6 separate regions of the Homo sapiens genome follow, and regions 1, 2, 4, 5 and 6 are each linked to region 3. The links are contacts of gene promoters, found by promoter capture Hi-C in blood cells and fetal thymus (Javierre and others, 2016). All regions are on one chromosome and are shown on one strand. The core of a region is centred on a gene start or on the middle of the fragment in contact, and the rest is flanking DNA. Distances in the headings are between cores, read along the strand shown.

Region 1 (3,628 bases), core at 1-2,500, 860 kb before region 3:
TATTCATTCAAACTATGAGGGTATTTTGTAAATGTGACTAAAGTCCATAGCAGTTGACTTTAAGTAAGGGATAATTATCCTGAATAATCCGAGTTGATTCAATCAATTGAAGGGGCTTAAAAGCAGGCTGAGGTATCCCTGAGAGTGGAAGGAATTCTGCCTGGGGACAGCACCTTCAGCCTTTGCCTGAGAGCTGCAACCTGTCCTGGGTGATGGCCTGCCCTTTGGATTTAAGACTTGCTTAGCCAGTCCCACAATCTTGTAAGCTAATTCCTTGGAACACATCTCTTACTAAGATCTCCTACTGGTTCTGTTTCTCTGGTAGAACCCCACCTGATACAGCGATTGCCTGGGATCTCTGTTAAAGGGCTGAACAGCTGGGGAGGAACTGTGAGGCAGTAGAGTGTTTATCAGCGTTCCTTAAATTTTAATGAGATATCAATCACCTGGGGGTGAGGCAGGAGAACAGGGAATTAGGGTAACCAAGGGTTAAGGTATACGGAAAGAACAGCAGGTGCAGCGAGTTCTAGGCAAGATTAGGCAGCAAACAGGCCACATCCTTGCTCCTCTGATAACAAGACAGAAGTTTCCACTTCAGCCTCTAATTGGTCACAGGCCAATCCTTCATAGGGTGTAACCAATTGGAGGCCTCTAAAGTGCATCTAGGGGAGTTATTAAACTTTTGTAACTTAATAAAAAGCCTAATTGTTGTTGGTGGGGGGGGGTGCTCTTGTGCTGCTTCACTTGCTGGAGTCTGCTCCCACTCTGTGAATTGTAGCTTCGCTTCAATAAATCTGTGCGTTCGTTACTTTTTGTTGTTGTTTGTCTTTCATTGTTTCATTCTTTTGTTGCTTTGTTTGTGCATTTTATTCCGTTCTTTGTTCAACATGCCAAGAACCTGGACAACTCAGTCAAGACCTTCCATCCGGTAATAGGGTCTGAGTGGACTCAGGTGGTGTTGATGCTGCCAGTATGCTTTGATTGGCAAGACTATATCTAGTAGTTCTCAAATCAGCCTGCACATTTGAATTATCTGGAGAGCTTTTAAAAAACACTGGTGTCTAGGGCTCACCTCTAATGATTATGACTTCATTGGCCTATTTAAAGTGTAGTGAAAAGTACAGAAGCAAGAGTGTAGGTGAGTGGTTCTCAAAGTGTGGTCCCTAGACCAATAACATTGGCATCACCTGGGAACTTGTTAGAAATGCAAATAATCAGATCTTATACCTACTGACTCAAACTCTGGGATTGAATCCCAGCCATCTGATTCCCTCCAGGTGATTCTGATGTCCACTGAAATTTGGGAACCACTGGTGTAGGAAGATTTTGAGTCTGTACTCAGACTCCTTAGGCAAGCAGCCTAAGCTCTCTTTGGCAGACTTTCGTGTCTGTAAAATGGGGATAACAATAGAAGCATGTTATGGGGGTGTTTGAGTTTGATCAGGGAGTTGACACCAACTATGGGGAAAAGCTGAGGTTCCCGTGCTACGAGAGCATGGGTAAGTCTTTAATCTGGAGGGCCTGAAGACAGAAGCAAGATTTATAGTAAGCAAGACAAGAGTGAGAGGGAATGGTTTGGGATCAACTGGGAAGATGGGGTGCCCTGAGAACTTGCCTTGGTGGGCCGTGGGGGCTTGACTCAGCACCTTTATCAGTGCAGCCTAGGTGAGGACAGGCGGGGCTACCAGGATGAAATTCTAAAGAACCAAAGTCTGAAGGGTGATGTCTTTCTCTGAGGCCGTGGAAGAACTTGCCGATGGAGGGACCACAGAGGGATCTATGGGAGAACAACGGCAACTGCAGGAGAGGTAAGAAGACCTTCAAATATCAGTGGGCAAGAGTTGGGGCTGATAGCTAGAGGATAGGGCCAGGGTTCAGAACTCTGAGGCTGAGGGAAAGAATCAGGATCTGATGGGGGAGAAGAGGTGGGGGGTGTGATGGGGAGGTGTGCTGGAAGCCTAGGTGTTGTGCTGAACCCCTATTAACCTCAATAGAGAAGGCACCAAGTTCAAGAGGCCAAAGAAGAGACCTAGAGCTAGCAAATGTGACTTGGGGGTTTTACTGGGACTTACTTACAGGGGAGAGGGTCCAGTGGTGGCGAGCTGGACACCTTACCTATAGAAACAATCCAGTGGTGGTGGGCTGGACAATATAACCACTGTACGTATGGTCCAGTGGCAGCAGGCTGGGCAGGAAAACCACAATTGCTTGCAAACAGCATTCAGTTTATACAGCATTTTCATTTAACACCCTCTCCTTAATGATCTCCACCTGGTAGCTTTCATGTACCGCACTCCCCACCCCCAAACTCAGGGCCTCCATCCCCCATAGGGCCAATGTTCCACGGGACGGCCTGAGGGCTCAGATGTTCCTAACAGACAAGGAATGAATCTCCGGGTTGGTGACTTACGGATTCCCTATCTCGGAACACATTCGGGTGCGTCTGCCATATGAGGTTGTTCTCAGAGTATGCTTGTGATTTCTCTCAGGTGTGCTTACAATGCACTAGGAAGTCAGCTCGTTTGGGGTTTGCTCTTGGGGGCCGACAGGAGGAAAATGCCTGGGCCCAGGTTTAAGGACTCCTATGAAGCAGACAAACCCACCATTCCAAACTCTAGCCCTTCTCAGGCTTATCTCGGGCCAGAGCTATTCCAAGGTCCCAGGCAAAGCCAGGACTGGAACCCTTGTCTGCTTATCTAAGGCTAGTGGTGGAAGGGTGGGGATGGAGGCAACTGCAGTGAATCCTGCACCCCCACTTCCTAGGCCTCCCAACCTCCCCAGCATTTTTGAAGTTCCAAACATGTTTCTGGGTTCTCTATCTTGGTCCCCAAGCGACCTTGGCCTTAAACACATCGTGAGTCTTTAGTGCTCTGCTCAGAACTCAAAAGGTTGGTGTAACTAAGATAGAAATGCTGTGTCTACAGCCGTTGCTGTGAAATGGGAATGGAAAGGGCTGCCAGGAAGTGAAGTCTAGTCTCTCTCAATGTGTGAGGTGCAAAAAGAAAAGCTGCTGTTCTGTCTCTGAGACCTTGGATCTCTAGGAGGAGGGATGAGAGTTAAACTTCCTTTACATTTTTTCACTTTGCTATATTACTGCCTTGGACTGTTTCTACTTTTCTTCTGCTTCTATCTTCCCTTCTTTTGATGAAAGAGAAGGGGGAACTGGGCAATAATCTGATTTAATGAAACCTGCCATGCTATTTGAGAAAAACTGAAAGCTTTGTTTTAGGTTAAAATGAAAAATTGTATATAATGTAAAATTAGTAAAACAGACATGTTAGGGGAGCACGTGCTGGGATTTGTTAGAATGAAAGTACCCTGTCTCAGCTTTGAGGAACCACCGCAGCCTACTGTGGGTTGTGGGTTATGGACAAAGGCGGCACACAGGATGTCACATATGCCTGTGCAGTGAAATTATCGAGAGACTGGATGGGCAGGATTAGAGGTCAAGAGCTTGACCAGGTAAAAGGGATCTTCTAGTTCTCTTTAGATAGTTGAAGCTGACCGCTTCTCAAGGAAAAATGTGTTTTAGGGTATTCAAGAAAGCACAAGAAAATCAATATTTTTAGGCTAGTTTTAAAGGGGTATTTATTGGCTGGTGGGTTAGGCATCTAATAGTTAACCAGTA
Region 2 (3,372 bases), core at 502-3,001, 530 kb before region 3:
TTGGGCATAAATAAGGCCATGGTTATTTTTCAAGAGTAATTCATGATAGAAAGATATGGCACATTTGAGGAAGTCATAGGTTTAGAAGTGAGATTTCAGAGCAGCAGTGAAGTAGATAGTATAGGAACACCAGAGATCCAGGTACAAACTCTTGGTTTGAAAAGCTTGGTTGAGGAGAAAGAGTGGGTTGGTAGTTGTCAGGGTTTTTAAGAACTTTTAGTTGCTGCAGTTGTTTACTTTTAAGTAGAGGCTGCTAAGAATAATGGATTGAGAGACAAGAGAGCATAGTGATTAAGAACTGGACCTCAGTGTACAGAAGTGGGTGTTTGGGACATGCTTCTTTTTTTCTTTTTTTACTTCAAGTCCTGGGATACATGTACAGATGGGGAACGATTCTTAACCAACCAAGTCCTTGCTACTCAAAGTGTGGTCTACAGACTAACATTCATTTGTAGCACCCGGAGCCTGTTAGAAATGCAGAATCCTGGTCTTTGCCTCAGGTCTGTGTATTTTGAAAAGATGCCTGGAGGATTCATGTGTGTATTATCATTCTAGTTCCCTCATCTTTAAAACAGGGACAATGGGCCAGGCGTGGTGGCTCACGCCTGTAATCCCAGCACTATGGGAGGCCGAGGCGGGCTGATCACAAGGTGAGGAGATCGAGACCATCCTGGCTAACACGGTGAAACCCTGTCTCTACCAAAAATACAAAAAATTAGCTGGGCGTGGTGGCAGGCGCCTGTAGTCCCAGCTACTGGGGATTCTGAGGCAGGAGAATGATGTGAACTGGGGAGGTGGAGCTTGCAGTGAGCCGAGATCGCACCACTGCACTCCAGCCTGGGAGGCAGAGTGAGACTCCGTCTCAAACAAAACAAAACAAAACAAACAAAAACAAGGGACAATGATGATACCTATGTTGTAGAGCAGTTGTGAGAATGCAATGGCATGATGCATGTCAGGCACATACTAGGTGCTCAATACATATTTGATTGTTGTTATTGCTATGATTGAAGATGCTGCAGAAAGAAAGCATAAGTTTGATAAAATAATTCCTTAGCAGGAAAGTAGGGATAAGTTTTGGATGTAGCCAGAAGAGCTAGCTTTAGGGAGAAGCAGAGCTGCTTTGCCACAGGGCCATCCGGGGCAGATGATCTCTCTCTAACAATTCTCCCGTCTTGGAGAGGGGTAATCTCTGAGCCCCAGCTCCCATCCCTCAGAATCTTTAGTTTTTCCAATTCTCTTCAAAAAGTATTAAAATTCTGAAAATTATGAAGACTATCTTTGAACACTCCTATAGAAAGTAGCTGTATTCACTAAAGACATTTAAGTGAATCCAGCAGTCGGGCCTTAGGATTAAATGTGGGTAGAGGTGCTGGTTTTTGACCTGGTATCCAATATTTGTTTGAATTTTACTTAAATTGGTGGCAACTTTTGAATGCATGGTTTTGTGAAGGAATAGACAGTAAAGATAATGTTATTTCTGTTGTTTCCATGACAACGGACATGCTTCATGGAATATATCCATCATGCATAGTCTTGAACCATCTGGTTTCTAAGTCCTTGGTGAAAACCCTCTAGGAATGAAGTGTAGGTAAACTTTAATCAGTTTTATAATTACTGTAGTCTTTGCAAAAATTATTTAACTTGATTTTGCAGCTGCTTCAACATAAGGCCCAGAGGTCTTATTAGGGTTTTTATTGCCACTTTTAAGGAGCAGTTTAAGAGTCATGATTGTGCTGTAGCTGCAGATGCCACTGTTTCTGTCTTTGGTTCTGAGACTAGGTTGTAGTGACATCACACAAAGATGGAGAAAGGGCAAAGTTATTTTTTCCAACTGGCTCTGTCAAATATAAAAATTAACCATACTTTGAGCTGGGTTTTATGTATTGGTAATGTATGTTTATGTTAGAGTTTCTGTCAAAACAGGGATTAAAGATAAATGTAGCTAATTAAAAGAACATTTGCTTAGAGCTCCTGGTAATAGATACCTCTTTGTGAGGTCCTGAGGTATGGCTTTCTTTAAGAACCGATGCAATTTGTGTGACTGAAGAAGAGAGGAGACTCGATTTTCTGAAAATAAAACACGAGTCTGAGAATTATCCAGAGTGAGCTCTAAGGAAATAAACGAAGTAATGGCTAGGTAAAGTTTGCTTATGTGGTGAGTTATATAAAACGTGTGTCTACCCTACTTCTGACCTTTCACACTACTAAATGATATTTCCCAACAAAGCCTTTGAAGTAAAGCAGTACCTTTTAGCTGGTACTAGATCAATCAACTTATTTCAAACTGAACTCTAGATGATTAAAAATAAAACAAAAACTTTCAGAATCAAATTAGGCAATTGTTGTCTTTTTTTCCTTAATTTTACCAGGCAGTTGAACTTTTTCTGCTAATGACTGCATTCCTGGCATCTGTGTTTTCTTGTTTCCCTGCAGTGAGGGGGAAAAATGTGGGAACCAAAGAATAGTTTTTCTTGCCTCCCATCGACCACCAAAGTCAACAGGATTAAGTTCCAAAAGACAATTCCTATGAACTAGAAGGCATCTTATAAAAGTGATAGCCTAATTTACCTCTCATAAACTCATTGGTCTTATAAGCTACATGTTTCCATGGTGCTTTGCAAAGGAACAATTGTAACTACCAATGAAGAAGTTTAAATGTTAGATATAGGATGTGGTAAAACTTCCAAATAAACCACAATGGTTACCAAATATTTTGATATTTGAAACTATTTTATATTTGAGAGGGTGAGGGACTATCAAAATGATCTAATTGTTGGAGTGATTCTGGAACTTATTTCTAACCTCTAATCGACATAACTTAAGAAGTGCCATTTCTAGAATTTAAATATTTATTAGCTTTAAACCCCTTGCCAGGGACCACCCCTGCTCCCCCAAACATACATATACCACAAAGAGCTACATAAAATAAAGAGCTATATAAAACTAGTGACTATATAAAGAGCTACACTCATTTTAATAAAATGTTCTTTGAAGATTAAGAGTTGCCAAGTTTCTGGATATAAAATTTAAGTTTTTGCCACTAGATTACTGAAAAGGGTTTATGTTAGAAACTTAATTGTGAATATAGTAATTCTACCACCAGAGGGCTCCGTTTTTTTTCTTGAATGTAGCCAGAGAGAAAGAAGAGATGAGTCTTGGTACTACATTTTTTTTCTCATTCCACCTGTCCAAGCCATAGACCATAGCTTAAAGGCAAAAATGTAGGTTTCCATTTTTCTGGTTTTAAAAATATATAGAAAAATATTTGCTTTTCGGTCTCTAGGGCAGTTTTATTTCCCCTATGGAGGTAAAGGGAAAAAAAATCAAAGCATCTTACAAGCTTCTATCATTGTGTGTGTGTGTGTGTGT
Region 3 (3,479 bases), core at 7-2,506:
CCTTTGTGTATTAAGTACCCACAACCTCCGAACTTAGCCGTCCCTGTCCCGGCCCGCCCAACTGCTGCCGCCGCATCTGCAGAAACCACTCGTGTTGAGGCCTCGGAGCAGCCGGGAGCACCACGCTGGAGCAAAAAAGCCGGAGGGCGCAGGGCTCCAGCCCGGCTGACCATCCCACCCAGCGCAGGGACCAACGGAAAACCCGCGCGGCGCCAGGACCAGGGGGCTGCCCGACGCCGCTCGCGGACTAGTTCCTCAGACTGTGGGACTCCCTAGTGCCGGCTTTGCCCAGGGCTTTCCAAGGCTGTCTCATGCCCTAGATCTGCCCCAGCAGCTCAGGCCTTGGACTGCGAACCCAGTATCCCGAGACACCGATTCCATCAGTCCCCATCCCGACCCCTCTCCAGCCGGGTTCATCCGCCTGCTGCCTCCCGTCCTCCACGTTTCCCCCACCAGCCACCAACAAGCGGCAACCACGCTGCCTTCTGCAAAAGAGGAAGAAGGAAAGAAGGGAGAGAGAAAGAAAGGGGGGGAAAGGAAGGGAGGTTTAGAGACTGGAATAGAATCCGCAGCCACATTCAGAAACTTACTCGAGCTTGAGAAAAACAATTTAAGAAAAGTAAAAAGGAAGTGTCCAGAGCAGGAAGGGAATTCACAAATGTAGCCTCCAGCGGGAACAGCTCCCTGGCTGCCGAGCTCCAGCGGGAGGGGAGTCGAGCGTTTTCTTTGCCACTTACCTAGTCCCCTGTCTACAAAGCTGGTGATCGTATTAGCCGACTTGGAAGACTGGAAAAAGCTGGCATTGATGCCCAGCTTCTCAGCGATGGAGTAAGTCCTGTAGATTGACAGCATGTACTCGTGGGGCACCACGCGCGGACCCCTGCCTGGCGGCTCCTGCGCCCGGGGCTGCTGAGCCCGGGGTTCGTCCTGAGGCCGCGGCTGTGGTTCCTGGCCCTCCCGGCCCGCGTCACTGTCGCGCGGCGCCCGCTGCATCTTGCCTTCCTTGCGGCTTCGCATGCCCTTGGTGGAACCCAGCTCGGCGGACGACGAGGAGGATGAGATGGAAGCCTGCTGGAAACCGGGCAAATCCCACAGAAAACTGATGAGGAAGACGGCCGAGAGCAGGACCCTGGGAGTATCCATGGCGGGCAAGTGGCTGCGTCTCCCCAGGAGGCGGTGGCGGCGGCGCAGGACGCGCGGGGCACGGAGCGGCTGGACAGCGGCCGGGGCCCGGCTCCTCGGGCGGACTCGGAGTGCGAGGAGCCGGGTCCCAGCCACACAAACCCCGGCCCCGCCACGCCCCCTCCCGCCCCTCGCCGGGAGGGGAGGAATGGGGAGGGAGGGCAGAGGAGGGGTGGGGAGGGTGGGAGGAGAGCCGGGTGGTGCGGGCCGGAGGTGTGGGGGAGAGGGGCCGCGGTGCGCCGGTGTGGCAGGAAGACGCAGCGCCCCCGCGGGACGCGCGCGGGGTTGCCGGGCGGTGCGCGCGGCGCGGGCCGCAAGCGCTGACCGGGGGAAGGCGGGCGCTGCCGGCCCGTGGCCGGGGAGCAAAGGCTGGCCCGCCGCGCCAGGGTCCCCCTCGAACTCCCGGAGGTGTGGTCCCTCCGCAGCGCGGCCCCGGCTCTCGGTCCTCGCCAGCCGCCTCCACTTTCCTGGGAGCGAGCGGCCCCGGAGGAGGGAAGCGGCGGCGGCGCCCCCAAGAGACAGCTTGGAGCAGGCGCCTCTGCTGCAGGCTGCGTGCTGCCTCGGGGCGGTGGTACCCTCCCTCCTCGGCCCCAACCGCCAGGCCTGCCGTTTGCGCCCCTCAGGGGCCAGCCCGGAGCCAGAGAAGCCTCGCCCTGGGCCAGGCGCAGGGCCCAGCTCGGAACAGCCCCATTTTCTCGGTTGGGTATCGCTCTCCACAAAGACAGGCGTCTATTCCCGACCCTCGAGGTCAGGCAAAGGCCACGAGTCTTTAGAGTTTGGATCGATGCTAAAAGCTGCTGCGCTCCCCTGCAGGCCCCAGCCTCTCCTCTCGCAGTCCCCAACCTCTTCTGACGCAGACTTTAGCTGCTCCACTTCTTCGTCTGCTCCCGGGATCCTCTCCCTCTCGCGGCCTGCCCCCCGCCTCCACTGCATCCCCATTTTCCCTCTCTTCTTTCCCTCCCGCCTGCAGGACTTCCTCCTTCCCCAAGTTCCTTCTGCATTCCAATCCCTCTTCCCCAGCCTGCTTTTCTTCTCACACTGCCCTCCCATCTCACACTGCCTTCCCACCCTCTCTCTTCCCGGCCTCCCCCCTCGCCTTCCAGTGGACCCCTCCCTTTGCAGCTCTACCCCAATCTGTTTCTCTTCAGCCCAGCCTCGCCCCATCACGAGTTTCCTTTATCTGTCCCCAGATTCCCCGTGCCTGTCTTCCCCGCCCACTGCCTCGCTCATTCCTGGGCCTGCACGCTGAAAGGCGATGCGGCGTAGCGCTGCTTCTGTCTGCCACAGTGCTCTGCCCTGGACTGCTATGGGCAGAAGAGTTTCCCTCAGTACTGATTGGGTGCTCAGGCACCAACCATAAAGTACCCTCCTTTAATCGTGCCAACAGCTTTGTGAGGTTGGCGTTGACTATTTTCACCTTCACGGATGGAAAAAAAAAAGACTCAATGGAAATAAGTGACTTTTCCAAGGCCACTCTGCCAAGAGGTTATGCAGCAAGGGACAGAACCCAGGCTCCCACCCCAAGCCCAAGATTCTTCCCACTACAGCATAGACAGTCATTCCTGGCCCAACTTCTCTATTTCAGTTCTGGCTTTTTTCTTCTCTTTATGGTTTCACTTGATCTCAGGTGGCTTCTTTCTCCGCCATGCTACTTTCTGTGTGTGTTCCCAGTCTCTCCAATCTCCTCCCTCTCACTTTCTAACCCCTTCTTCCTTTTGCTTTTTCATCACCTCTTCTGTCCTGCAGGGACCACTCACATGACAGCCTGCAGGGGGAGGGAGTTTTGCTGCGCTGCTCCCCTCATCCTTTAACTTCCTTAAGGTCTGGGATATGCCCTCCACCCTGGACACTGGCCTCCTCCAGGTAATGGCAAGCACCCACAGAGAACTTGTGTGTCAGTCATGGTTTGAAGCCCTTCGCCAATATTATTTTACTTAATCTTCACAGCAATCCTGAAATAAGTGCTGTATTATTCCTATTTTACAGATAGGGAAAGTGAGGCCCAGGGTCACACTACTCCAGAGTCTGGGCTCTTAATCACTGGGCTATTGAGCTTGGCTGCTCTCCCCTTGGTCTCCGTGGATGCCCCTTCTGGCCCTATCCCAATTCTACTTATGTCCCCTAGTTTGGGTTTCATGGTTGTCAAGTTCTGAGACCTTATACTTGAAGGTGCTTTTACTATAATATTTTCTTCCTTCCTCTCTCTGTGCTTTAAAATGGCTTGTTAATATTTACAATAAAATAAAATAAAAGGAGATAAACTGAAAGAAAAAATTATTTCTCAAATTTTTGCCACT
Region 4 (3,632 bases), core at 188-2,687, 820 kb before region 3:
ATGTCTAAAGAAAATTTTAAAAAGCACTCAGCCTATACCATTTCTCAGGCTTTCTCTGGTTCTGACATTTTGGGAATCTGTGGTCAGTACCCAAAGCCTTCCAACCTCTAAAGAAACAGGGCCAGGATTTAAAGTCAGCTGTGATTCTATGATTCATACTCTTCTTCAGTCTAGGTGTCTGACCTGGGAATTCCCTCATGTGGCTCTTGGTTCTTTTGCAGGTGTGCTCTGCCTTGTCAGGGTGACTTAGGTGCTCATCTGGGCTATAAAACCCTCACTAAGAGCAGTGCTCGGCACAAGGCAGTCTGACGCCTGGTGAATGATCCATTACTTAAAAGCTCATCAAAGTTGCAGCACTTCTGAGGGGCAGGAAGCCCCAGTAAGGTACCTGGGACAGTTTACAGAACACCACCCTGATTATTTTATGGTAAAAATGTGGTAGGATTCTGGTTTTCAGCAATGAGAAGCAACTCACACACACACACACCCTTAAGTCTAAAAAAACAGCCATATATTGAGAGGTATCTGGATTTTTTTGAAGACTTTCAACCTCCCCCAGCTTTTTGCTTCTAGATCAATGTTTTTAATGGCTTTGGCAGCCTTAGTCCTATTAGTAAATTCCATTCAACCTGCAAATTAATTGTTCAGGAGCAAAATCAAGTTGAAGATGGGCTTTTAATCTGCCCTGCCTCAGCCCACTTCCATGTTTGTATACATTTGAAAGCTTAGCCTATCTCCCTTATTCTGGCTGTTTGAATAGCATAACCTTGGTGATGAATTCCAGATGCTGCACTACAGAGTGCTTCAGGGGCTTATACATTACAGTTCTCAGAAAATAAATGTATTTTTTTCCTTGTGATTAAAAGGCTAAACAGCAGGTCATGCGTACCTATGCATGCAAAAGGGTATTTATATTTTGGATCAGGTGAAATGCACCTGGGCGCTGTAAATATCACAGATCACTGTGATGTGATTGAATCTAAAAGTCGGCATGGCCTCTCTTCCTTTTCTTTTTTTAAATACCCTTTGAAAGCGAAAGTTCAGCAGGTCATTCTTTCCCATAATCAGCGACGAACTTAGATCATCAGAGTTGATGTGAGGTTTTCCTTTACATCTCAGAGGGGAACCTGAACTATCAGTGATTATTGAGAGGTCCTGTCGAATATATTACAGTAGGGATCACAATCTCAAAATTGCTCTGAAAGTCTGGAACCCACACCTTGGAGGGTCTGGACTTCCCTTAACATTGCTTTTCTAGTTACTGTGTTTGGGAGGTGGTTGGGATTGGGGGACTTTTCCCAAGACTTCACATTTCAGAGCAAAGGGAGCTCCACTGGAGAGATACTCCTGGCCTCCTTTCTTACTCCTTCAAGGTGGGAGAGCTTTGGAGAAGGAATGGGGCTGAGAGCCCAGCCAGGTCAGCCCTCTCTCTGGGAGCCCAAGGCAGTAGCATCTTTCTCTACCTTTAGACTGGCAGGAAGCCTGGCAAGGCATGAACTCTTCCCAGACTGGAGCCTGGGGTTTTGGCATAAGCTCAATCCCGTGGAAAGTTATCATGTTTCTTGGCCAGTCTTGGCCATGACATACGTACATACACATGTGCACAATGTTTATTAATAATAAGGATGATACTGGGATCTCCATCTTGCTGAGTCCTTGACACTCTCTAACTTGGTTCAGAGCATGGATGAAGTAGGGGATCTTCTCTGACCCTAATAGTCATTAAAGTAATCATTCTCATGAAAAATTTGAAAATAGAGAAAAATGCAAAGAAGAGAAGTCATCCATAATTCTATTGGGATAACCCTTTTAACATTCTCTGTGTTAATCCTTTAAAACTTTCAGTCTCCTTTCTCTGTTTCCCCTTCCCTCTCTCTTCCTCTTGTACAAGTATAGGCAGGAAAACATACATAACATACATATATATTATGGCGATGTGTGAGTGCAAGTATATATATATGTTCATATACCACATACATTTATCACAAATTAAGGTCATGCAATATTCATAATTGCTATTGTTTAAATTCTTAGCATGTGCCTTATTGTATAATAAGTAATATAACCTCACAATAACTCCATAAAGTGGGTACTGTTTTAATCTAATTTTATAGATGAAGAAACTGATCACAGAAAGTTTAACTCCTTGCCCAAGCTTACACAGATAGTAAGTGGCAAAGGAACCTTTAAACTCAGTTTGAGTTTTAATCATCACGTGGTGTAGCATGTATACTACACTGTATAGTATGTTTTGTTTTGGAATCTGTTCTTTTTACTCAATACTTCATGAACAGTTTGTTCATGTCATTAAATATTCTTCTAAAATAGGATTTTAATAGTTGCACCGAATTTAAGTACAAGGATATGCATTGTATTTTATCTCTTACCTTACAGATTTGGTTTGGTGGTACATTTTCTCTACCATAAGCAACACAGCAATGAACATCCTTGAGCTGCACATTTTTGCTCATAACTCTGTTTATTTCTTTAGGCTAGGTGCTTAGACATTGAACTGCTGAGGCGAACAGTGTCTGCCTATTTTTCAAGCCTCTGATGCTCCCATCAAAGTCCTGACCACCAGCTCCCCCTTGCAGCTGCATGGATGCAGGGACAAAGAACTGGGAGGTCTCCGCATCTTGCCCATAGGGTGTATTGGTTGATCTGGAATGGTCTTTCTTTCTTGCTAGCTTGCTTTCTTGCCTTCTTTTTCTTTTTTCTTCCTTTTTTTCTTATCTTTTTTCCTTTCCTTTCCTTTTTTTTCCCTTTCCCTTCTCCTCTCTTCTCTCTCCTTTCTCCTTTCCTTTCCCCTTTCCTTGTCCCGTCCCCTCCCCTCCCCTCCCCTTTCTTCCCCTTTCCTCTCCTTTCCTCTCCTTTCTCCTTTCTTCTTTCCTTTCCTTTCATGACGGGGTTGCACCATGTTGCTCCAGCTGGTCTCAAACTCCTGAACTCAAGCTATCCTCCTGACTTGGCCTCCCAAAGTGCTGGGATTACAGGTGTGAGCTACCACACTGGCCTGGTTTTTCTTTTTAACTGCTATTTTAAAGCTTAGATTTACAATAATCTTTTGCCCTTGATGGAAGATCTTTGGTTAGTGTCCCTCAGAATATTTTTGGTTAGCAAGAATAAGAAGGATCATATCCTAATTTCTTGGCTCTTTACCGTGATGAATGCCCATCCTACCTCATCGTTGCAAGAGACTGAGGATCTCCTCAGTGACATGTCCCTGGTACCCCTCTCCTACCTGTGCCTCTGCTCTTCTGGTGGCCTCATGCACAAGGCCCTTCACTCTCATCTTTGCAAGTCTGCATTCTATTTATTCTCAAGGGCCAGCAAAATCCTACCTAATGGCACAGTCATCTTTGCCTATCTTTGTTCAGAATTATCAATCTCATTTTCCTATTTTTCCTAGAAGCTAGATTTCCTGGAAGATAGTTTTTTTTGATAATTCCATTTCATTCATTTTTTTCAGTTCACTCATTCATTCAAAAACCACTACTGTGCTGAATGAATAAATTTGGAAACAACAAAAATAATACATGGGCAGGCTCTTTCCTCATGTCTAGTAGGGAAGAAATATTACATAAGCCAAGAATTTCTGTACAGTGTGTTAAGTATTATAATATGTAGGAGAG
Region 5 (3,841 bases), core at 550-3,049, 880 kb before region 3:
GAGCCCATTATGATACCATTTTTTTTTGTTGTTGTGGGGGAGGTAAGAGATCCTTGTTGTATTCTAACAATGAGGCTGAGTCTCAGACATGAGTCTGAACCCTGTAGGGATAGTAAATTCTTCCTTTTCCCAGTTCTCCTTTCTTACTAATATGGGTACAGAATGGTCTGTTCAAGTCACAGAAGCTCTTGGCTGAAGAAGGAGTCTCCCTGAGCACACAGGGAGATCTTAGTTCCAGAGAGGGTATGGGGGCTACAGAAAGGGCCAGAACAGATGGCACACTCCGTACCCCAGAGCTAGGGCTAGTGTGTGCCTGGTCTGTGAAGGGAAGGAACTAGTGATTCCAGGTCCTTGGACAGATTCCTTCCGCAGCAAGAGCAGCATATTTTCTGACCCTTTGTGTTTTTCCTTTTGAAACTGACATTATCTCTAATTATATGTGGTCAGATTGTAGAAGACATTTATCATCTATTGCCAAAACATCACCCACTGCTTTGCCAGTTCCTGTTTGCCCAGCCTGGCTGTGGCTGTTGAAATATCCCATCTGCAAGGTGAACCCAATTCCTAGCTAACCCAAGACTTGCTCCTCCCCATCATGGTTAGATCTGGAATTGGTCTGGATGGCCTAGGTCTGGTACGCATTGAGCAAAATGCCACACTGCTGTCTTCTCCATGAACCCTTGTGGATGGGCTTCTACTCAACTTCTAGATTGAATTCCATTTCTGTTCTTGGGCTGAAATTTTGTCCAAACCCCAAAGCGTTGTCCAGGGCTGTAGGAGTCTTCTAGGGCTGCCGTAACAAATCACCACTTAAAACAGTAGAAGTTTATTCTCTGAGTTCTGGAGGCCAGAAGTCTGAGATCAAGTTATGGGCAGTACTATACTCCCTTTGTAGGCTCTAAAGGAGAATCTGCTCCATGCTGCTTCCAGCTTCTGGTGGCTATTGGGATTCCTTGGCATTCTGTAGCTTGTAGCCACATCAGTATAATCTCTGCCTTTGTCTTCCCATTGCCTTCTCCTCTGTGTTTATTCTATAAGGATACAGGTGATTGCATTTAGGGCCTACCCAGATTATTCAGGATAAGTGCCTCTTTTTCAGATCCTTAACTCAATCACATCTGCAAAGATTCTTTTTCCAAATAAGGTCACATTTTTAGGTTCCAGGGATTCGATGTGATTTGATATCATTTTGGGGGCCATTTTTCAGCCTAGTACAAGGGCCCTGACAAACTCCTGGCTTGTGCTGACCCCTGTTTTTGGGGGATCAGCCCCTTATCTCTTTTGGTCCTGGCCAAGGGTATGTTTTAACATGAATGAGTCTGTCTGGAATCAAATTGTTAACCACTTGACTATGACTATCTCCACAGTCATATCTTTCTAGGCCTCCATTTCTAGGCCCTTGGGTATAAGTGCCAGCCTGGATCAGATTAAGCTTGCCTTTAAATACTGTGATGTAGTCTGATGGACAAATAAGCCCAAGCTCAGGTCAGTTCTTTTAGCTTGAGCCATACTGGAATGGCTTCCATCTCCTTGTCATCCTGGTATCGAGGTCTCTGCATGCCTCTTGGCAATGATGTGTTGGCTATAGTATCATCATGTGTATAACATATTTTTTTGCATACCTACCTTATTCTGAGCTCTTTATAGAACTTATTTTACTTAATCACTGTAGATCAGGAAACAGGGACAGAGAAAGGCATAGTGGCTCATGCCTGTAATCCCAGCACTTTGGGAGGCTGAGGCTGCCAGATCACTTGAGCTCAGGAGTTGGAAACCAGTCCGAGCAACACGGTGAAACTCTGTCTCTACTAAAAAAATACAAAAATTGCTGGGTGTGGTGGCGTGTACCTGTGGTCCCAGCTACTAGGAAGGCCGAGGTGGGAGGATCACTTGAATCCAGGAGATTGAGGTTGCAGTGCGCCAAGATTGCGCCACTACACTCCAGCCTGGGTGACAGAGCAAGACCCTATCTCAAAAAAAAAAAAAAAAAAAAGGAAGTAAGGACAGAGAGGTAAAGTTATTAGTCCAAGGTCATATAACCTGGGTCTAACTGTAAAATTCATGTTCATTTTACCATGCTGTACTATATTTTACATGCTTTATTATCTATCTTATTGTTGTCTCTCCTTCTCATTAAAACAAAACAAAACTGAGACTAGGAGAGGAATAAGCTTTATTTGATTTTCTAATTACTTGTGAGGACTTGGCAGACAAATTTTCTCAACCAGACAACTTAATTCTTAAATTTTTGTTTGGGGGATCTTTCCAGTTCAAGGTCTGTTATTGCATATAAGTTTGTAATCCTCTTGCCAGTTTCATTATTCTACATTTATTGCCATGTTTTGTGTAACATGTGTCTGTATACTGTTAACATTTTCCAGTAACCATCCTACATACACAGAAAAGAGACATGAGTGTAAAGGAAAAGGCCAGCAAGTTCAGTCAGCCAGGAAAAGTTTATAAGTCTGTATTTCAAGGAAGGAGTCATGTGCTGAATTTGCACACTGGCCTGTGACTGAAATCCAGATCAATATCCATGCTCTAAGTACAGTATGACTAAAACTCTTAGAACCGAAAGCTATTTAAGTCCCTTGGTCTTTCTAGCGTAAGTTAGGAAATGTTTCCTCCTCTTCAATATTTTGGAAAGGTTTGAGCAGAATTGGTATTAGTTTGCCTTTAAATGTTTGGTAGAATTCACAAGTGAAGCCCTCAAGTGCAGGGCTTTTCTTTGTCAGGAGATTTTGGATTACTGATTCAATCTCCTTACTACTTATAGGTCTGTTCGGATTTTCTATTTCTTCATGATCTTGTCTTGGTAGGTTTTGTGTTTCTAGGAATTTTTCCATTTCTTCTAGGCTATTCAATTTGTTGGCATATAATTGTTCATAGTGCTCTCTTATAATCCTTTTTATTTCTGTAGAATCGGTAGTAATGTCCCCACTTTTATTTCTGATTTTAGTAATTTGAATCTTCTGTCTTTTCTTTCTTGTTCTGTCTAGCTAAAGCTTTGTCAATCTTGTCTGTCTTTTCAAAAAGCTAACTTCACATTTTATTGATTTTCTCTTGATTTTCTATTCTCTATTTCACTTATCTTTGCTCCAATCTTTATTATTTCCTTCCTTTTGCTAGTTTTGGGTTTAGTTTTCTCTTCTTTTTCTAGTTCATTAAGTTGAAACTTAGGTTGTAGATTTGAGATCTTTCTTGTTTTTTACTGCAGGTGTTTACAGCCATATATGTCTCCCCTAGCACTTCTTTCACTGTGTTATATGTTTTGGTATGTTGTTTTCATTTTCATTAGTCTCTAAGTATTTTCTAATTTCCCTTGTGATTTGTTTTTTGATCCATTGGTTGGTTGTTTAAGAGTGTGTTGTTTGATTTCCAAAAATTTGTGAAATTTTCAGTTACTTCGGTATTGATTTCTAACTTTATTCTATTATGGTTGAAGGAGATACTTTGAATAATATCTATCTTTTAAAATCTATTGAGACTTAATTTGTAGCCTAACATATGGCCAATCCTAGAAAATGTCCTATATGTACTTGAGAAGAATGTGGATGCTGTCAATGGGTAGAGTGTTCTGTATATGTCTATGAAATCTATTATTAGTTGGTTTATTGTGTTTTTTAAGTCTTATATTTCCTTATTTATATTTTGTATAGTTGTTTGATCCACAATTGAAAGTGGGGCATTGAAGTGCCCAACTATTCTTGTAGAGCTATCTATTTCTCCCTTCAGTTCTGTTGGTTTTTGCCTCATATATTTTGATGGTCTTTTATTAGGTGTGTAAATGTTTATATTGTTATCTGTTCTTACAGTTTTTAACTTTTTATTAACATATAAT
Region 6 (3,580 bases), core at 570-3,069, 840 kb before region 3:
AGTTTAACTAGCTAGATTTTGTTTTTTCTGGATTATGGTTTTTTTTTTTTTTTTTTTTAATAGTTTTCCTTTAGGAGTTTACCAGTCCCTGGAGCTCATTGGTAGCAGAGGAAAAAAGTGTCCGGAGAAATTGAATTTCTTTTATGTCCACAGAAAAAGTGGCCAGCTGCCATTATAGGATAAACCTAGGGCTTTCTTCCCAGGGGCTCATGGATTAGTAAAATCTGAGCAATGGTACTGCCCTTTTTTTGGTAAGGCTAGAATATATACTTTGGAAAGTGTCTATAAAATTAAGTCAATATAACCACTTATTTCTGGCATTTGTTATGGGATAATTATCCTAATAGTTCTTTAGTCTTGTAATTTAGTAAAATGGATATTTTCCTTACTCTTGAGTTGCTTGGGCAAGCATGACTAATAGTTACCGAAGTGTAGATCGTTTATTAACATGTCTAAATCCTTCTTTTTAAGTCAGCCTAACAGGTAGTTGTTACCATCATGCAGCATTTTCACCAGTTCTTCCCATACCTAACAATTAAAATTGCCCACATGTGATTGAGAATTCATTGTGTGTACATTTCTGGGTTCCAGGATGGGGCCTGAATGAGGGATGTGATAAAGGAAGTATTTACAGATAAAGCATGCATATTTGTAGTTAGTTTAGACTATAGATAATGCAGATTATGTGGAAATCAAAGTGGAGACAGAGTTGGTTTTGTCAGGGCATGTTTCTTAGAGGGGAGTTTATGGAGTTGTTGGTGGGAAGTGCTAATTCCAGGCTGGAAGATGGCTGAGAAGAAATGCGAATGGAAAAGCCAGGTAGGTGAGAAAACTAATTATTGTTGAGCAGTCATACGTGCCTGACACTGTGCTAGTGCTTTACCACTGTCTTCAAAAATTAAATCTCCTTTATTAATTTACAATGTGGTAGGAATTTTTTGCTTTATTTGGGAGGAGGAAACTAAGACTAGGGTTATGCAAAGAATATTAGAGGTGATAGTAGAATTTAGGGTTACTTGACTCCAAATAATGAAAGTGAATAAGACTAACATAGGAGATACTTCCCTGGCTGCAAGGGAGGGGTCTTCATGGGGTGAATCAAGAGAAGAATTTGATTCCTTGGGACTGGGACAGTGAAGGCACATTTATATCTCATAGGAAAGACAACCTGAGGCTCCTGTAGCTCCTTGAGCAGGCTACTGACATGATAGGGAAGCACATTATATCTGTGATATTTATCCATGATGTTGAGAGTATCAGTAGTTTTTTCTTTATTGCCATGTCATAGTCTATGGATGATGAACACTTTGGTTGTGTCCAGTAATGACTTTCTACAATAAAGCTGCTAGTGACAATCTTATACAAGTCTTTTAGTGTTTGAAACCACTGATTTTTGTTTGAGATATTCCCAAGAGAAGAAAGACTATATCACAGGCATACACGTGTTTGGCTTTAGTAGGCACTGCCAGGCAAACATTTTCCCAAGCTGGTTGTACCTATTTACATTCTTATCAGCAGGGTAGAAGAGTTCCAGTCTGTTTAACTTTCATATCTTGTCTTCCTGGCATGACTTCGGATAGGAAATTATGCAACAAGGGACATACTGTTTCTTATCAGCCATATGGCCTGCACAGAGACTGTGGGTCACAGTGGTGTAAAAAAACACCAAACAACTTAATAATCAGAAGCTCACCAAGAATCAGATCCTCCACACTACAAAAAGGCTAAAGGAAACTGCAGGAAAGTCAAGATCTTCCAGATTCTGACAAAGGGAACAATATGACTCAAACCTTCCATGCGCTGTTTGAAAATGTTAGCCTGTTCCTTACCTTTTGACATCAGGATATTACTGAAAGGTAAACCAAATGACTGTACACCACTGAGCCAAAAACTCTGTTTAAATGATAGTCTGAGGCAAACAGATCTTTTTATTTGAGAACAATAAAATGGTTTTGTCTTCTTAGATGATCTAAAAAATTTTCTAAGCAACAACTGTAGCTCTTTGTTCTCAACTTTCTTGTAGGTTCAGGCAAAGGCCTGATAACTTTTTCTAGTTAGTTGTTGAACATGGATGTGATGGTTCTCCTTTCATGAAAGACAGCAACTGTGATGGTTAATTTAAGGTGTCAACTTGACTGGGTAAAATGATGCCCAGATAGCTGATAAAACATTATTTCTGGGTATGCCTGTGAGGGCGTTGCTAGAAGAGATTAGCATTTGAATCTGTGGACTGAGTAAAGAAGATCCATTCTCCCCAATGTGGGCAGCTATCATCCAATTCATTGAGTGCTTGAATAGAACAGAAAGGTGGAGAGTGGGCAAATTTACTCTTCTAGAGCCAGGACATCTATCGTCTCCTGCCCTTGGACATCGGAGCACCTTGTTCTCAGGCCTTTGGACTCCAGGGCTTACCCCAGTAGCCAACGCCAGCTCCCTATTCCCTCTGCTGCTGGTTCTCAGGCCTTTAGACTTGACCTGTGACCTGTATCATTAGCTTCTGTGGTTCTTAGGCTTTGGACTCAGATGAATTACACCAGTGATTTCCTGGTTCTCCAGCTTGCAGATGGCATATCATGAGACTTCTCCACCTCCGTAATTGTCTGAGCCAATTCCCATAATAAATCTCCACTTTTATCTATCTATCTCCTATTGCTTCCGTTTCTCTGGAAGAATGCTGGCTAACACAAAGATGTAGTAAAAAGCACATGAGCACATTGAGAGGCTGAGGCAGGTGGATCATGAGGTCAGGAGTTCAAGACCAGCCTGGCCAAGATGGTGAAACCCAGTCTCTACTAAAAATACAAAAATTAGGCAGGCGTGGTGGCGGATGCCTGTAATCCCAGCTACTCGGGAGGCTGAGGCAGAGAATTGCTTGAACCCGGGAGATGGAGATTGCAGTGAGCCAAGATCATGCCACTGCACTCCAGCCTGGATGACAGAATGAGACTCCAACTCAAAAAAAAAAAAAAAAAAAAAAAAAAAAAAGCACATGCTATGCTTTTCAAATCTCATCTTAAGACACATCTGTGCTATGTGATTCTAATTAAATGCCTCTCTGGGCTTGTTTGCTTATCTGTAATGTGGCAATGACAGTATCTCCCTCTCTCTGGGTTATAAGGATGATGTGTGTGAAATATAGGTCCAGAGAAGACATGTGGATTGGACATAAAAAATATATCAGCCTCTTTTTGCTTTGATTTCTTGGTGGCAATGGTTGATGTTAACATTGGCTTTGGAGTCTGACCTGAGTGGGAACCTGGAACTTGGCTCTGCCATGAACTGGCTGTTTGACCAGGACAAGTTATTTAATGTTACTGGGTCTCAGGTTCTTCACGGTAAGATGTCAATGATAATATTGCCCACATTATACAGTTATAATAAGGATTAAATGTGATAATATACGTAAAGCAAACTAGTTAGAGGCCGCTACGTAATAGTGACTCAATACATTTGTTTCCTTTTACATTCTAAGATTTCTCCCACATGAGAATTGTGGTTCTAATATTTGGAACTCTAACATAAAGGGTTTGAATTGCAAGGTGTCTAATGATAGAGAAGACTTGCAGTTACCTAATGATCT

The links. Contacts are between HindIII fragments. The CHiCAGO score rates a contact against its expected background, and 5 or more counts as called.
Region 1: a fragment that was not itself captured here is called in contact with the fragment with the promoter of GDF6 in region 3 in 3 of 17 cell types (endothelial precursors, total CD8 T cells and naive CD8 T cells); the score reaches 7.8 in endothelial precursors.
Region 2: a fragment that was not itself captured here is called in contact with the fragment with the promoter of GDF6 in region 3 in 1 of 17 cell types (M2 macrophages); the score reaches 5.6 in M2 macrophages.
Region 4: a contact is called between a fragment that was not itself captured here and the fragment with the promoter of GDF6 in region 3, in 1 of 17 cell types (M1 macrophages). The highest score is 5.3, in M1 macrophages.
Region 5: a fragment that was not itself captured here is called in contact with the fragment with the promoter of GDF6 in region 3 in 2 of 17 cell types (total CD8 T cells and endothelial precursors); the score reaches 5.3 in total CD8 T cells.
Region 6: a contact is called between a fragment that was not itself captured here and the fragment with the promoter of GDF6 in region 3, in 2 of 17 cell types (M0 macrophages and erythroblasts). The highest score is 5.4, in M0 macrophages.

Annotation. Positions count from the first base shown.
Region 1 is chr8:95,299,385-95,303,012 of GRCh38, forward strand. All of the region lies in intron 1 of CFAP418-AS1 (CFAP418 antisense RNA 1), which reads left to right. Among named protein-coding and RNA genes, the nearest start is that of TRS-AGA2-5, 31 kb to the left of the region's middle. The HindIII fragment of the contact is 3,932 bases long and covers 1-3,216 here.
Region 2 is chr8:95,624,990-95,628,361 of GRCh38, forward strand. The region is part of intron 3 of CFAP418-AS1 (CFAP418 antisense RNA 1); the gene reads left to right. Among named protein-coding and RNA genes, the nearest start is that of TRS-AGA2-5, 360 kb to the left of the region's middle. The HindIII fragment of the contact is 3,179 bases long and covers 163-3,341 here.
Region 3 is chr8:96,159,550-96,163,028 of GRCh38, forward strand. It overlaps GDF6 (growth differentiation factor 6), which reads right to left and starts at 1,257. Exons shown (of 2, transcript NM_001001557.4): 1 at 738-1,257. The coding sequence starts at 1,143. The HindIII fragment of the contact is 9,891 bases long and covers 1-3,479 here.
Region 4 is chr8:95,344,062-95,347,693 of GRCh38, forward strand. CFAP418-AS1 (CFAP418 antisense RNA 1) reads left to right here. Exons shown (of 4, transcript NR_038209.1): 2 at 222-384. Among named protein-coding and RNA genes, the nearest start is that of TRS-AGA2-5, 76 kb to the left of the region's middle. The HindIII fragment of the contact is 1,431 bases long and covers 723-2,153 here.
Region 5 is chr8:95,276,226-95,280,066 of GRCh38, forward strand. The region is part of intron 1 of CFAP418-AS1 (CFAP418 antisense RNA 1); the gene reads left to right. Among named protein-coding and RNA genes, the nearest start is that of TRS-AGA2-5, 8.4 kb to the left of the region's middle. The HindIII fragment of the contact is 739 bases long and covers 1,431-2,169 here.
Region 6 is chr8:95,316,123-95,319,702 of GRCh38, forward strand. The region is part of intron 1 of CFAP418-AS1 (CFAP418 antisense RNA 1); the gene reads left to right. Among named protein-coding and RNA genes, the nearest start is that of TRS-AGA2-5, 48 kb to the left of the region's middle. The HindIII fragment of the contact is 3,782 bases long and covers 1-3,580 here.